Linked DNA regions of Homo sapiens: regions 1, 3, 4 and 5 are each linked to region 2. The links are contacts of gene promoters, found by promoter capture Hi-C in human tissues and cell types (Jung and others, 2019). All regions are on one chromosome and are shown on one strand. The core of a region is centred on a gene start or on the middle of the fragment in contact, and the rest is flanking DNA. Distances in the headings are between cores, read along the strand shown.

Region 1 (2,700 bases), core at 70-2,569, 430 kb after region 2:
AATTATGTATTCCCTTGGAGGAAGACATGAAACCAGTTTTCAGGCAGGGTTTGGTTAGGAAGATACATGTCACCAACACACGGGATCTTCTCGTGCCAACTGCTTCGTATTTGTAAAACTAACAAATTGAGTCAGTGTCTACTATAATGAGATGCTGTTCCTGCTCTATGCGGTATAGGGAAGTAGGCAAAGCATTCGTGCAAGAGTCTTGCAGCCTGCATTCGATTCTTGGCTGTGCCACCAACTAGGTGTGTGACTTTGGATAAATCACCTGACCCTTCTAAGCCTCTTAGAGCTGTGAGCTGGGTGTAGCAACAGAACCAACTGTTCTTGGGAAAACTTAGAAAAGGTTTATTACAATGTCAGACATATAACTAACAAGCATCTTTTTGTGAGCTATTTTCTGGCAATTGAAGGCTTCAACTTAATTTTTTTCTAAATGTCTGAATGAATCTGTAGCTTGCCAAAATGATAGCAATACCTGTCATTTTTGAGTTCCTATTGCTTGAGTTCCTTAGAAAGTTTAGGCAACCCATCTAAGGTCTCACGCCTGGTTCATGGTGCAGCCAGGATTTGCACACACACATTGAGCACTCTACGTCTATTTAATATGGTAACAAGCCCACAGATGGAAACATGACCCTATGGTGGTGCTGGGAAGAGACAGCCCAGCTGAGGCTGGAGGCAGTCCCTCTTCACAACACTGACTCTTCCACCAAGAAAGACCACTGGCTATGGCACAGAGGGGCATGAGCTAAACACCAGCCTTGGCCACCATTTTACCCTGCTCATGAGGGCTAAACCTTGCTGTATTTTGATTATCTTTTTTTTTTAGACAGAGTATCGCTCTGTCACCAGGCTGGAGTGCAGTGATGTGATCTCGGCTCACTGCAACCTCCACATCTCGGGTTCAAGCGATTCTCCTGCCTCGGTCTTCCGAGTAGCTGGGACTACAGGCGTGCACCACCAGGTCCAGCTAATGTTTGTATTTTTAGTAGAGACAGGGTTTCACCATATTGGCCAGGATGGTCTCGATCTCTTGACCTCATGATCTGCCCACCTCTGCCTCCCACAGTGCTAGGATTACAGGCGTGAGCCACCGTGCCCAGCCTTGATTATCTTTTTGATAAAATGATCCAGAAAGTTTTCTCCCTGAGGACTTTTTGGTGGAGAAGCCTTAGTGCACACACAGAAACACCTCGACTATCTGTCAACTTCACACAGTGACTGCCGGATGGAGTAATAGGTGCTCCTCTTCCTCAAAAAGATGAATTTTATTGGCCTAGAGACAAAAACAAAGCTATTAACCTGAGAAAGGTAAAAATCGTGGGCAGGTAGAAAAGTCTTCACAAAGTCAGACTTCTTCATTTCTATCTACTTGTTTAAAATTGTGCTAAAGGCTAAAACATATTCCTGGAAAAGACCAAGCAAACATAGCTGGAGACCAGGTAAACCCAGTTCTAAAATTCCAACCTATTTGCCTATTATAAATGGAAGCCTTTTCAGGAGGACCTTAAGAAAAGGCAAGCTCCAGATATGTTCAGTGGGTGCAGACCTAGACAGGGCTCCTCAGGCCTGAGCTTCAGAAGCTGTGAGTTGGGTTACTAAAAGCGCCCTTACAAGGAAACCCCTAGTCCTTCCCAGGTGAGTATGCCTTCCAAGGCACCCCAGGGGCAGCTCCTTAATGTCCAGGAGTTTCTTCCTTGCCCAGCTCCAGTGCTCAGCCCAGAGCCACACTCCCCCCAGAGCCCCCTGGCCCTGTGTTGGCTTCCTGTTGCCTCTGCAGAAAATCACTACAGACCAGGCGGCTTCAGGCATCATAGATCTACTGCCCAACAGTCCTGGAGGCAGGATGTCCAAAATGGGTCTGACTGGCTTAAGACCCAGGTGTAGGCATAGCTGGCTCATGCTGGACACTCCTCTGGAGGATCATTGCCCCTGCCTTTCCCGGACTCCAGGGCTGCCCACACTCCTTGGACACACTGTCCTGTCACCTGCTTCAGTCGGCTTTCTCTGTCACGTCTCCTTCTCTCTCTGGCCTTCCTGCCTTCCTCTCACAAGGACCCTGTAATTACATGGGCCCCACCCAGATAATCCAAGATCACCCCCCACCTCAGTACATTTAACTAAATCACATCTGCAAAGTCTCCTTTGCCTCGTAAAGGGACATAGCCACAGATTCCAGGGAGTAGGATGCGGGCACCCCGGGGGCCATTCCACAGCCCACCACATAGCCCAAAGGGATGCACCAAGCAGGAACTAAAGCAGACGCTGTCCAGGCGGCTTAAAGAAGGGAGGGCTTTAAGGAGCGGACCTTCCCACTGCTGGGGGGCTGCCTTTCTACAGCACCATGAGCACCATGAGGCTGTTGGTTTTATCCACTGAGAATGAAATAAACTACTGAGAGAAAGCTTTTATCTCACTAATAGATCTGAAGTCATGCCCTTTAAAAAATGAGAATAAGAGATAAATGTATAATAATAAACTATGTTGCAATTTCCAATAATTAAATGCATTCCTTTTTTATATTCATATATTATGGGGTTTTCCATTAGGGCATGTTGTTGACGCTGACATTTTCAGAACCATTAAGTTTGTTTCCACAGCTAGTTTTCAAGGGCCAATAAGGAAAAATAATAGAACCTAATTGGAAAATAAAACAGAATTGAGCCCAGAACATCTCAGTTAATGAGCAATAGA
Region 2 (2,700 bases), core at 3-2,502:
GTCCCGCGGGCACCGGGCAGCTGGCCATGTAGGTGGAACCCGGGTTGGGCGACATGTGCGGGACGTGGTGGTGGTGGTGGTGGTGAGGGTGCGCGTGGCTGGGGGCGCCCGCGCCGGCGTCGTAGCCCGCGGGCATCATGTCGAGGCCGCCGTAGCCGCCCTGGCTGTGGCAGCCGAGCGGCGCCGACGGGGGCGCCTGGAAGTCGAAGCCCTGGGGCAGCAGCGACGCCCCGAAGCCCAAGCCGCTCACCACGCGGTGGTACATGGGCTTGAGCGCCTGGCACTTCCGCCTGAAGCCGCGCGGCCGGCGGCGGAACGAGCCCTCCTCGAACATGAACTCGCTGGCCGGGTCGATGGTCCAGTAGTGGCCCTTGCCGGGCCGCCCGAGGCCCTTAGGCAGCTTGATGAAGCACTCGTTGAGCGAGAGATTGTGGCGCACCGAGTTCTTCCAGCCCTGGTAGGCGCCGCGGAAGAAGGGGAAGCGCGCCTGCAGGAACTGGTAGATCTCGCTGAGCGTCAGGCGCTTGCTGGGCGAGCTCTGGATGGCCATGACGATGAGCGCGATGTACGAGTAGGGCGGCTTCTCGGGCCGCCGCAGCCCCGAGCTCGCCTTCTTGGCGCCCCCGCTCCCGGCGCCCGCGCCGCCGCCGCCCGCGCTCTTGCAGGCAGCCGAGGGGGCGCTGGCCGAATTGGAGGAGGACGAGGACGAGGCGCAGGAGGCGGAGGACGACGACGAGGAGGAGGAGGTGGTCTCCGGGGCGGCGGCGGCGGCGGCGGCGGCGGCGGGCGGCGGGCTCATCAGGGCGGCCTGGAGCGCGCCGGGGACCGGGCTGCACGCGCGGCGGAGCGGGGCCGGCGGCGGCCCGCCCTCGGTGGTCATCTGGGACCCGGGAGCGAGGCCGGGCCGCGAGGGCGGGCCCCGGGCGGGAAGCGGAGGCGCCGGAGCGGGGTCGGCCCAGAAGCCCTGCGAGCGCCCTAGCCCGCCGCCCGGGCTGCAGCCGTGGCCACTCCGGGCCAGCGCTTCGGCGTCGCCTCCCTCAGCTCCTCTGGGGCTTCTGGCGGCGGCGGCGGCGGCGGGCGGGAGGCAACGCCCGGCGCATCCCTCCCCGAGCCGCGGGCCCTGCCTTGCGCAACGGCCTCCCAGGCCGCGGGGCCGAGCGGCCGGCGCCGGGCGACTGCGCCCGCGAGTGGGACCGCGGCCTGGACCCCGGGGACGAGCCCGACGTCTCCCTTCAGGAGCGCTCCTCGCTCTGTCTCTCGGACTTCCTCCCTCCCTCGCCCTCCCCGGCCGCCCTCCTCGCTCCCTCCCTCCCTCCCTCCCCCCCCACCCCGCCCTGCCCCCTCCTCGCTCCGCGCCGCCGCGCTCACTCCTCCCCCTCCCGACCTGGCGGCCGCCTCCCTCTCTTATCTCGCTCCCCGCTCTCCAGGGTCTCCTCGCTCTTCATTCCTCTCGCGGCCTCCTCCCCTTTCCCTCACTCACCCTCTTTCCAATTGAGGGATCACAGACTCACTCCGGTTCTGCCAGGGGGACGACCCCCACCCCTCGCAAAACTCGACCACCTCTGACTTCATGAAATATTCTTTCTGTTTGCCCCCCGCAGCAAGCCCCGCGTCCCATCCCAGGACCCAGCCCCGCCCCTCCGCGCCCCCTTCCTCCTCCTGGCCCGCCGGGCCGAGTGGTGCTGCTGCGGGTGCGGCTGCTCGGAGCCTCCCTGGCCGCCCTCCCCAGGGCCGATACTGACTCCATCTGTCAACTTCGTTTAGACTTTGCCGCCCTCAGCCACACGCCGGGGTGCCAGACGCCCAAAGGTAACGTGCCAATCCTCTCTCTTTCTGGCAGGGCCTGCAGGCTCCCCGACAATTGTTAGGGCGACTGGGGGCCGCCGCAGGGTTGCGGGCCGCTGGCGATCGTGGACGTTTTCGGAACTTTGAGCAGAGGGATTTACACTGAGAAACCTAGGCCAAGTTTCAAAGACTCTGGAAACCTGGATCTCATGGGACTTAGGGTTGCATTTGCTTCCACTTCTTCCCCCCACCCCCGCACCCCAGTTAGTGTTCTGTAAGAAAAAAGTGCAAAAGAAAAAGGAAGGAAGGAAGAAAAGAAAGAAAGAGAAAGAAAAAGAAAGACCCTGAGATAAGCGAGATGGCTATATTTATAGTCAGTCCTGAAGGGGTGTGCAGCTGTCACTAGGTTTACATCCTCCGTCTTAACATTGCCCACCCAAAACTGTGCCAGGTCTCAGCTAACTCCTGTCCGAGAACACTTCTCCCCAGTTGTGGCTAATTCCTCCCTAAGTAAGAGTCAGGCTCTGAGAGAGATGTGCCCTCGGGAGCAATCACTTCCAATGAGACCCGACAGTTAGTTATTGGATTACACGTGCAGGGAAATGTAGTCCGACCAGGGATAGGAGCTGGGAGAGGGAGGAGGAGAGCAGGAGGCCGGAGCTGGCGGGGCCTCCCAAGGGCTGAAGGGGGAGGCCCAGAAAGAAGGTGCTGCAGACCAGCGGACCAAACAGGAGGTAGAGCTGGGCACCCCGCTGCGTCTAGGCTGAAAGGACCGAGGTGCACGGGTGTGCCTGCTGGGGAGCCTGGGGAGTTGCAGGAGGCAGGAGAAAGGGAGGTTGTGCAGTAATCAGGAGGAAGACACCAGGCAAAGAGCCTTCACAGCCGCACAGCCTAGGCAGGCCCCCTGGGGCGGCA
Region 3 (2,700 bases), core at 71-2,570, 450 kb after region 2:
CGGGGGCCGGGAGGGGCTGGGAATTCTCTTTTCCTTCCTCTCAATTTTGCTGTGAACCCAAACCTGCTCTAAAAAAAAATCAAGCCTATTAATAAAACACATAACATGGTAATACTATAAACATATTTAATTGGCTAACAAGGATCTAATGTAATACTGGGCAATTCCTATCTCTATGTGAATTCATCATGGCTGCCTAGAATGGATCGGAGTTTTGGAGAAGCGAGGAGACAATTTACGAATTGTGAGCGTGAATCTCTGTGGCAGACTGGACGGCATGGGGTGCATGGGTAGCAGAAGGGCCCTTGGGGCAGCAGAGGAGAGAACGGCCGACAGGAAGGTGTAGACAGACGAACACAACTCTGGACTGGCCATCAGAGACATTGGAAACAGATCTCCTCTTCCGAGGAGAACTCCCAAGACCTGGAATTTGGGCTGGAAGTATCAGTCCCCTGGTTCAGGTTAAATAGAACAGCTCTGGGGCCACACAACTGAACCACACGGACTGGGGTCACACAGAAGGCGTGGGGAAGCCAGGGGCTGCCCTGGGGCTGCTGGGGTGTGTACACAGTGTCCATTGCCTCAGCCTCCAGCTCTGATATCAGAGCCTGGGGAACGAGTTTCCTCCCTAACCCTGGTGCAGATTTGGAGAAGATTGCAGGTGTGGCTCTGGCCAGGATGGAACGCTCTTTCTCATGCCCTCCTCTCCCAACACGTACCTTAGCCTCCCACCCTGGGGTCATGTGCACAGTGATTACCAGCCAGTTGTGCCCCAGCTCATGGGGTTCTGTGTGCCAATCACTGTGGCATGTTTCATGGCCTCTTTTCTTGTCTCTGGATTCGGACACAAGTCCCTGGAGAGTGGAGTCTGCAGCCCAGCAGTGCCCGGCGGGTAAACAATTACTGTGAGTGGATGAATGCACGAGCCAATCTCCTAGACACAGCCTCTCCCACATCCCGTTGCTCACGCGCTCTCCAAAGCTCAGTCTGGCCGCCTGATTCTAGCGACCCTGTCCTCCCTCCTTCCTGCTTAGCTCTTCCACAGGTCATCCTCCAAATTTCAGCCACACGCAGCATCTGTGGGGTGGAATTCTGCTCACAGCCAGCATCCTTGCTTACAGAAACCTTTCTCTGGCTCCCCTGGAAACCTCTCTCCAAGTTCTCATCCTTTCAGGCCTCTTTCATGCTTTCTCCTCATGCTTCCTGTAGAGGTCAAACTCCTCTTCACCATCATATCTTTTTGTGACTCCAGATAAAACTTACACTCTCCCCTTTGCTCTGGCAGATTCCTGCAGGGCTTTGGCAGTGGACTGACAGACACCAGGTGACCTGCCTCTCCAGGAGGATGGAGCAGAAGCCCTGCCAGTGTCCCCTGAAGGGCAGGGCTGGGGACCGCATGAGGACAAGGCTGGAGAGTATCCAGAGCCTTGTGGGCAGTCTCTCCAGCCTCCATGCAGCCACTGCGCACACACCCACAACAAAGAGGCATGTGCCATTCATCCATTTAGCCTGAGCCGGGTTCAAGGAGCTTCTGCTCAGGATAATCATGTACAGTTGCACAGTTCTTACACTGAACAAAGACAGCAGGCTGAAATCCATTCTACACTGTACTCTGTGTGCCCTGGCAAAGGGATGCTTTTCTAAATCTGGACAGACAGGACTCATTTTCCTAATTTGCACACAGCTACCTTGTAGGGTAGTAAACCAGCTCTCCCCACCTCACAACTTCTCTCTTGTGTTACTGCTGCATGCAGGGCTTTGATGACAAGTCACACAGGTGTTCTGTGTTTACCAGCATCCCCCAAACCTTGCACTACCAATCCCCCAATGCAGAAGCACAGGAGACAGAGTTGAGCCTCTATTTCCTACACTTTGCCTGTGCGACAGCCTTACAAGTTGTGGAGAACATTGCACATGCTGAACCTTTAACGTGGACGATGAATCCTGTGAAGTTAGGGACCCCAGCTGTTCTGTTCCCCACCTTCCTAGCAAAGCCCCCAGCACACAGACGGGGCTGCAGCAACGTCCATTGAATAGCTCAGACATCCACTTGTCTGCAGGAGGCTCTGCTCCCCCATCCTTCCCCCAGGCCTGCCTGGTCCCTTGGGCTGGCACTTATGCGTCCCACAGCATTTGGTTCTTGATCTTTTCCTTGGTGAAACCTTCCTTGCAACTCCTGTACAAAGCTCTTTGGGATCGGACCCATATGCCATGCCCATGATGGCTGCCAACTGTGGGTCCCCTTTCTATCCTGTTCAGGCGTCAAGGACAGGGGCAATGGCGTCTTCATTTTGTGAGTCCAATGCCCAGTGCACTGTTTAGACTGCGGAGAAATGGGTCTTCAGTGATTAAATAAGAGTCCCTAAGATTTTGCTTCTGAGAATCTTTCACATCTTTAATTAATAACAATAATAATACTTAGTTACTGCGTTACATATTTTCCTTATCTTGAATTGAGAAACATTTCAAACATACAGAAAAGCAGAGTAATACAATAACAACTACCACCTTCTACTGAGGCCAGACAAAAGCTAATATTTACTACGTTGATGCAGGCTTTTTTTTTTTTTTTTTTTTTTTTTCAAAATAAAGCACCATGAATACAGGTAACTACAGATAAACCTCTCTGTCTCCATTTCCTGTCCCCCTGACACAACTTCTCCACTCAAGTTGGTGTGGCTTCATCCATGTATATTTTTG
Region 4 (2,700 bases), core at 48-2,547, 410 kb after region 2:
TTTGAGTGGAGGAAGTGGGTGCGGACAGAGAGGAGGCAGGGTTTTCAAAAAGGCCCCTATAAAATTGTATTCCATTTAGATGTGTAACTTGGTCAGGATTCCTTTTACTCTTACCATAAAAGCAGGAACTGTGCTAAGCAAATCAGATGCATTGTTTCTTTTTATACCCATAAGAAATTTTGAAGATAAGCACCATAATAGGGTTGTAGGAAAAAATGGTGGATAGGAGACAGAACTAATGTGCAGCTCCCACTTAGTTGAACAGAACAGTGTTTGGAGACTCACATTGTGAACTTTTGCTCCAAGAACCACCACAGGAACATACCAGGAAAACCAAAAGAATTCAAAGAGCCTTTGAAAAAAGTGGCTTGCCATTGCAAACACTGTGAGACAGTCGAAAAACTGTGAGTTCCCTAAGAGTGAGAGGGGGAAAAGTTGGCCTCTGAACTTACTTCCCCAATGGAGAACCTGAAATTCCAGATCATGGGGAAAGATTTAACCTTACTTAGAGCTGAAATTGATTTAGGGAGCCCAGCAAAATATAGCAGTAGAAGAAGCGGTGGGAAGATCAGCAGTAGGCACTCCTGATCTCCAGCTTGAGCCAAGGGAAGCCCTTCCTGGCCTTACCTCTTTGCAGACCTTCCCCAGCACCAGCCTGGAGCCCAGTAGCCCCCACTAGATGGCTAGATCCAGAGGACAATAACAGTTGCTGCAGTCTGGCTCTTAGGAAGCCCTGTCCCTAGAGGAAGGGGGAGAGCACCACATCAAGGGATCACCCCATGGGACAAAATAAACTGAAAAGCAGCCGTTGAGTTTCAGATCATTCCACTGAAAGTCTACTCAATTGAAACGGAACCAGAAAACTAATTATGATAATATGACAAAACAAGGTTCTGTAACACCCCCAGAAGATCACATTAGCTCTCCAGCAATGAACCCAAACCAAGAAGAAATTTCCAAATTGCCAGGAAAAGAATTCAGAAGGTTGATTATTAAGCTACTCCAGGAAGCACCAGGGAAAGGTGAAAAGCAACTTAAAGAAAATTAAAAAGCAATACCAGATATGGAAGAAAAAGTATCCAGAGAAATAGATATCATAAGGAAAAGACAATCATAACTTCTGGACATGAAAGACACACTTAGAGAAATGCAAAATACACTGAAAAGATTCAACAATAGAATCAAAGGAGTAGAAGAAAGAACTTCAAAGCTTGCAGACATGGCTTTTGAACTAACCCAATCTGACAAAGAAAAAGAAAAAAAATTTAATGAAAAAAGCCTCTAAGAAATTTGGGATTATGTGAAATGAACAAACATTTAACTGGTGTTCCTGAGGAAGAAGAGAAATCTAAAAGTTTGGAAAACTTACTTGAGGTAATAATCAAGGAAAATTTCCCTGGTCTTGCTAGAATTCTGGACGTACAAATACAAGCAGCTCAAAGAACACCCAGGAAATTCATCGCAAAAAGATCATCACCTAGACACATAGTAATCAGGTTATCTAAAGTCAAGACAAAGGAAAGAATATTAAGAGCTGTGAGGCAAAAGCATCAGGTAAACTATAAAGGAAAACCTATCAGATTAACAGCAGATTTCTCAGCAGAAACTGTGCAAGCCAGAAGGGATTGGGATCCTATCTTTAGCTTCCTTAAACAAAATAATTATCAGCCAAGAATTTTGTATCCAGTAAAACTAAGCTTCATAAATGAAGGAGAGGTTTTCAGACAAACAAATGCTGAGAGAATTCACCACAAACAAGTCAGCACTACAAGAAATGCTTAAAAGGAATCCTAAATCTTGAAACAAAACTGCAAAATACACCAAAATAGAACCTTCTTAAAACATAAATCTCACAGGACCTATAATATAATAACACAATGAAAAAGAAGCAAGGTACTCAGGCAACAACTAGCATGATGAATGGAACAGTACCTCACATCTCAATACTAGCATTGAATGTAAATGGTCTAAGAGCTCCACTTAAAAGATACAGAATGGCAGAATGGATAACAATCCACCAACCAAGTATCTACTGTCTTCAAGAGGCTCACCTAACACATAGGGACTCACATAAACTTAAGGTAAAGGAGTGCAAAAAGATAATCCATGCAAATGGACACCAAAAGCAAGCAGGAGTAGCTCTTCTTACATCAGACAAAAAGCACTTTAAGGCAACAACAGTTAAAAAAAAAAAGATAAAGAGGGATATTATATAATGATAAAAAGATTAGTCCAATAGGAAAATATCACAATCTTAAATATATATGCACCTAACACTGGAGCTCTACTAGACCTAAGAAATGAGATAGCAACACAATAATAGTGGGGGACTTCAACACTCCACTGACAGCTCTAGACAGGTCATCAAGACAGAAAGTCAACAAAGAAACAATGGACTTAAACTACACCCTAAAACAAATGGACTTAACAAATATTTACAGAACATTCTACCCAACAACTGCAGAACATACATTCTTTTTATCATCACTTGGAACATTCTCCAAGATAGACCATATGATAGGCCACAAAACAAGCCTCAACTGGGCATGGTGGCTCATGCCTGTAGTCCCAGCACTTTGGGAGGCTGAGGCAGGTGGATCACGAGGTCAGCAGATCGAGACCATCCTGGCTAACATGGTGAAACCCTGTCTCTACTAAAAATACAAAAAATTGGCTGGGTGTGATGGCAGGCACCTGTAG
Region 5 (2,700 bases), core at 114-2,613, 390 kb after region 2:
GTGACCTTGGTTTGTCTGCAGCATCCATCCAGGCACGTGGGAAATGTTGTTTTCAGGGACACTGAAATGTGGAATTTATTCATCCCCTCAGCAAGAATTTGCTGAGCCGCTGCCCTGTGCCAGGCAGTGCCACCTGCTCTCAGCTCACACCTGGCATTCTGACAGAGGGAGGCAGACAGCAATGGCCCAGAGTGTCAGAGGGGGTTAGTGCCGCAGACCAGGAGTGAGCGGCGTCGGGAGGGAGTGCAAGATTCCAGCAGGCGGTATGACAAAGCACAGCACACAAGATGAAATGGATTGGGTGCACCTGCTCACAATGGGGGACTAGGGAGTGTCTCAAAGTTATAGTTTCATTTTCAAGAATGTTCTGATACCTCTGTTACTGTACCTAGATTTGTTTTGAGCCTACGTTTCTTTGAGGTAATTGAGGGGTGTCTGATGGAGAATATATGATGAATAGGCACAGAAAGGAATGCGCACCCACCACCAGACTCCCAGCACTGCCTGTGTAAAGGAGAGATCAATAGGCCAGGAGAACCAGATCAAAGAAAAAGAAAAATGGGAAAAGTTTATTCAGCCACCTGTCTGCATCTCCACTATGGGCCTTGTCCTCATGCCCATGGCTTCACTTTCTTTTTAGTAACAACTCTACTGAGAGATAATTCACATACCACACTCTTCACCCATTTAAAGTGTAGACTTCAGTGGTTTTTAGTACATTCCCAGAGTTGTGCAACCTTCCCCACAATCAATTTGAGAACATTTAAACCACCCCTAAAAGAAACCCCGTCCCTATAAGCAGTACCTCCCCACTTTCCCCAGGCCCCAGCGCCTGGCAACCACTAACCTACTTTCTGTCTGTAAGGATTTGCCTTTTCTGCACATTTCATATCAATGCAGCCATACCATGTGGTCTTTTGTGGCTGGTTTCTTTCCCGTAATGTCTTCCAGGTCCACCATATCATAGCATGTGTCACGCTACCTGATAATGTGTGATTCTTCATGCCTGAATCATATTCCGTCAGCTGTGATCTATCACAATGTGCCTACCCAGTGTCAGCTGGTGGATTGCCGGCCTCATTTAATTTCCCACCTGTACGCCTCTGTATGCCCAGCTCTGCTGCTCACTCAGCCCTCTGCGCTGTTCTTGGATTCCCACACCCAGAAGCTGGCAGGAAGCAGTTGAGGATGGAGAGGGAAGGAGGCAGGGGCTGGGGGTCGCAGACAGCACAGCAGTGAGATCATGTGTGTCCTGGGACTCTTCCTTCCTGGCCTCAGCTCTTTTTCCCTCACCAGTCCTATACCTGAAAACCACCCGTCCTCCTCCTCCTCCCTGGCTGCCAGAGTTTTGGGAGCAAATCCTGTAACCGTGCAGATGCCCTCCCTGAGGTGTGTCCCTGCAGCCTGCCTTCATTCTCCTTGTGGTCAGGGAGAGGTGGCTCCCAGCTCCTCCCAAGCCTTCACTGCAGTTCCAGAGCTTCCATCTGGACCCTCCCCTCTCATAGTTTCTGCCCACCCTCAGCCACACGGCACTAGAGCATGAGCTTCTCGGGGGCAGGACCAGACCTTATGCATCTTGACACTCCATGGTGCCTAACACGTGTTCTTACCATGGGGGTGTGGTCCTGGGACACGCAGCCCGGCCTCCCTGAGATCTGAAGGACTGAGGGCTTCATGCCCCGCTGCTGTGAGTGCTGCCAGCACCATCCCCTGCCTGCCCTCTCTCTAGACATTGCCCTCTGCTGAAGGGACCCACCCTGACCATGGTCCCTGGAGCAGCCTCAGTTGAGTGATGTACTTGTGATAAGAGGGCCCTGCCCCTCTCACCCCGATTCCGCACAACCTTAAAGGGCTGCTCCCACTCCAGAGATCTTCCTGTGGGGTGGCTGAGGCTTTTCTTTTGACCACGTGGAAGCCCAGCCTGTCCCTCTGCCCATCTGCCGCTTTCCCTCCCCACAGGTGTTGGTCCTGAGAGCATTCCCAAATAAATTTCCTGAACCATCATCACCATAGCAAAGCAGCTTCCTGGGCAACCTCACCTACAACAGCCATTTAAGAATAGGAATTTGAAAGACATTGAGTGAAAACAATTTATAATTCAGAAAGGAAAGCTTGCCTTATAAATAAAACTATTCATTATTACTTAGCTAAAATAGTCGTAGTTACTTTACAAATGTTTACGGCTCCCCTGGCTTGGAGATCAATCTAATCTTTTTTTTTTTTCTTAATGTTCAGTCTCTTTATGTCTATGGATATGTAAATATTTAATTAAAACATCTTTGTATAAAATAAATGGTGGTATAAGGAAATGGAAAAAAACCCTTACCTGCAGAGAAAATTTGTGAAATATATTTTTCACACAGAAGGGTAAATAGAATATCCATGTTCCATTCAAATAAAAGTGAAACAAATGCCCATCTATCTTCCAAACAGCTGAAGAAATAGAATATCCCCCACTATAGATAGAAGCTGTGTTGTGCCCAGTTAACTGCTATCCTGAATGGCCAGCTTGCTAGAGGATAGATCAGATAGATAGATAGATAGACAGACAGACAGACAGACAGACAGACAGACAGATAGATAGATAGATATACATACATACATACATACACACATACATATATAGATGATGGATTGGTAGATGGTTGATACATGTTAGATAGATAGATAGATATATGGATACATACATACATACATACA

What was found. The method cuts DNA at HindIII sites, captures the fragments that hold promoters and counts their contacts. A contact is called where the count stands out against the background at its distance.
Region 1: a contact is called between a fragment that was not itself captured here and the fragment with the promoter of FOXF2 in region 2, in 1 of the 25 tissues and cell types used here (hippocampus).
Region 3: a contact is called between a fragment that was not itself captured here and the fragment with the promoter of FOXF2 in region 2, in 1 of the 25 tissues and cell types used here (mesenchymal stem cells).
Region 4: a contact is called between a fragment that was not itself captured here and the fragment with the promoter of FOXF2 in region 2, in 1 of the 25 tissues and cell types used here (lymphoblastoid cells).
Region 5: a contact is called between a fragment that was not itself captured here and the fragment with the promoter of FOXF2 in region 2, in 2 of the 25 tissues and cell types used here (lymphoblastoid cells and mesenchymal stem cells).

Annotation. Positions count from the first base shown.
Region 1 is chr6:954,849-957,548 of GRCh38, reverse strand. No RefSeq gene overlaps it. Among named protein-coding and RNA genes, the nearest start is that of LINC01622, 150 kb to the left of the region's middle. The HindIII fragment of the contact is 4,750 bases long and covers 1-2,700 here.
Region 2 is chr6:1,388,128-1,390,827 of GRCh38, reverse strand. FOXF2 (forkhead box F2) reads right to left here and starts at 1,252. Exons shown (of 2, transcript NM_001452.2): 1 at 1-1,252. The coding sequence starts at 880. FOXF2-DT (FOXF2 divergent transcript) reads left to right here and starts at 1,367. Exons shown (of 3, transcript NR_187218.1): 1 at 1,367-1,809. MIR6720 (microRNA 6720) reads left to right here and starts at 417; the gene lies at 417-514. RefSeq lists an enhancer at 1-70. The HindIII fragment of the contact is 13,823 bases long and covers 1-2,700 here.
Region 3 is chr6:933,594-936,293 of GRCh38, reverse strand. No RefSeq gene overlaps it. Among named protein-coding and RNA genes, the nearest start is that of LINC01622, 170 kb to the left of the region's middle. The HindIII fragment of the contact is 9,703 bases long and covers 1-2,700 here.
Region 4 is chr6:977,099-979,798 of GRCh38, reverse strand. The region is part of intron 2 of LINC01622 (long intergenic non-protein coding RNA 1622); the gene reads left to right. Among named protein-coding and RNA genes, the nearest start is that of LINC01622, 120 kb to the left of the region's middle. The HindIII fragment of the contact is 6,048 bases long and covers 1-2,700 here.
Region 5 is chr6:994,150-996,849 of GRCh38, reverse strand. All of the region lies in intron 2 of LINC01622 (long intergenic non-protein coding RNA 1622), which reads left to right. Among named protein-coding and RNA genes, the nearest start is that of LINC01622, 110 kb to the left of the region's middle. RefSeq lists an enhancer at 1,132-1,651. The HindIII fragment of the contact is 4,216 bases long and covers 1-2,700 here.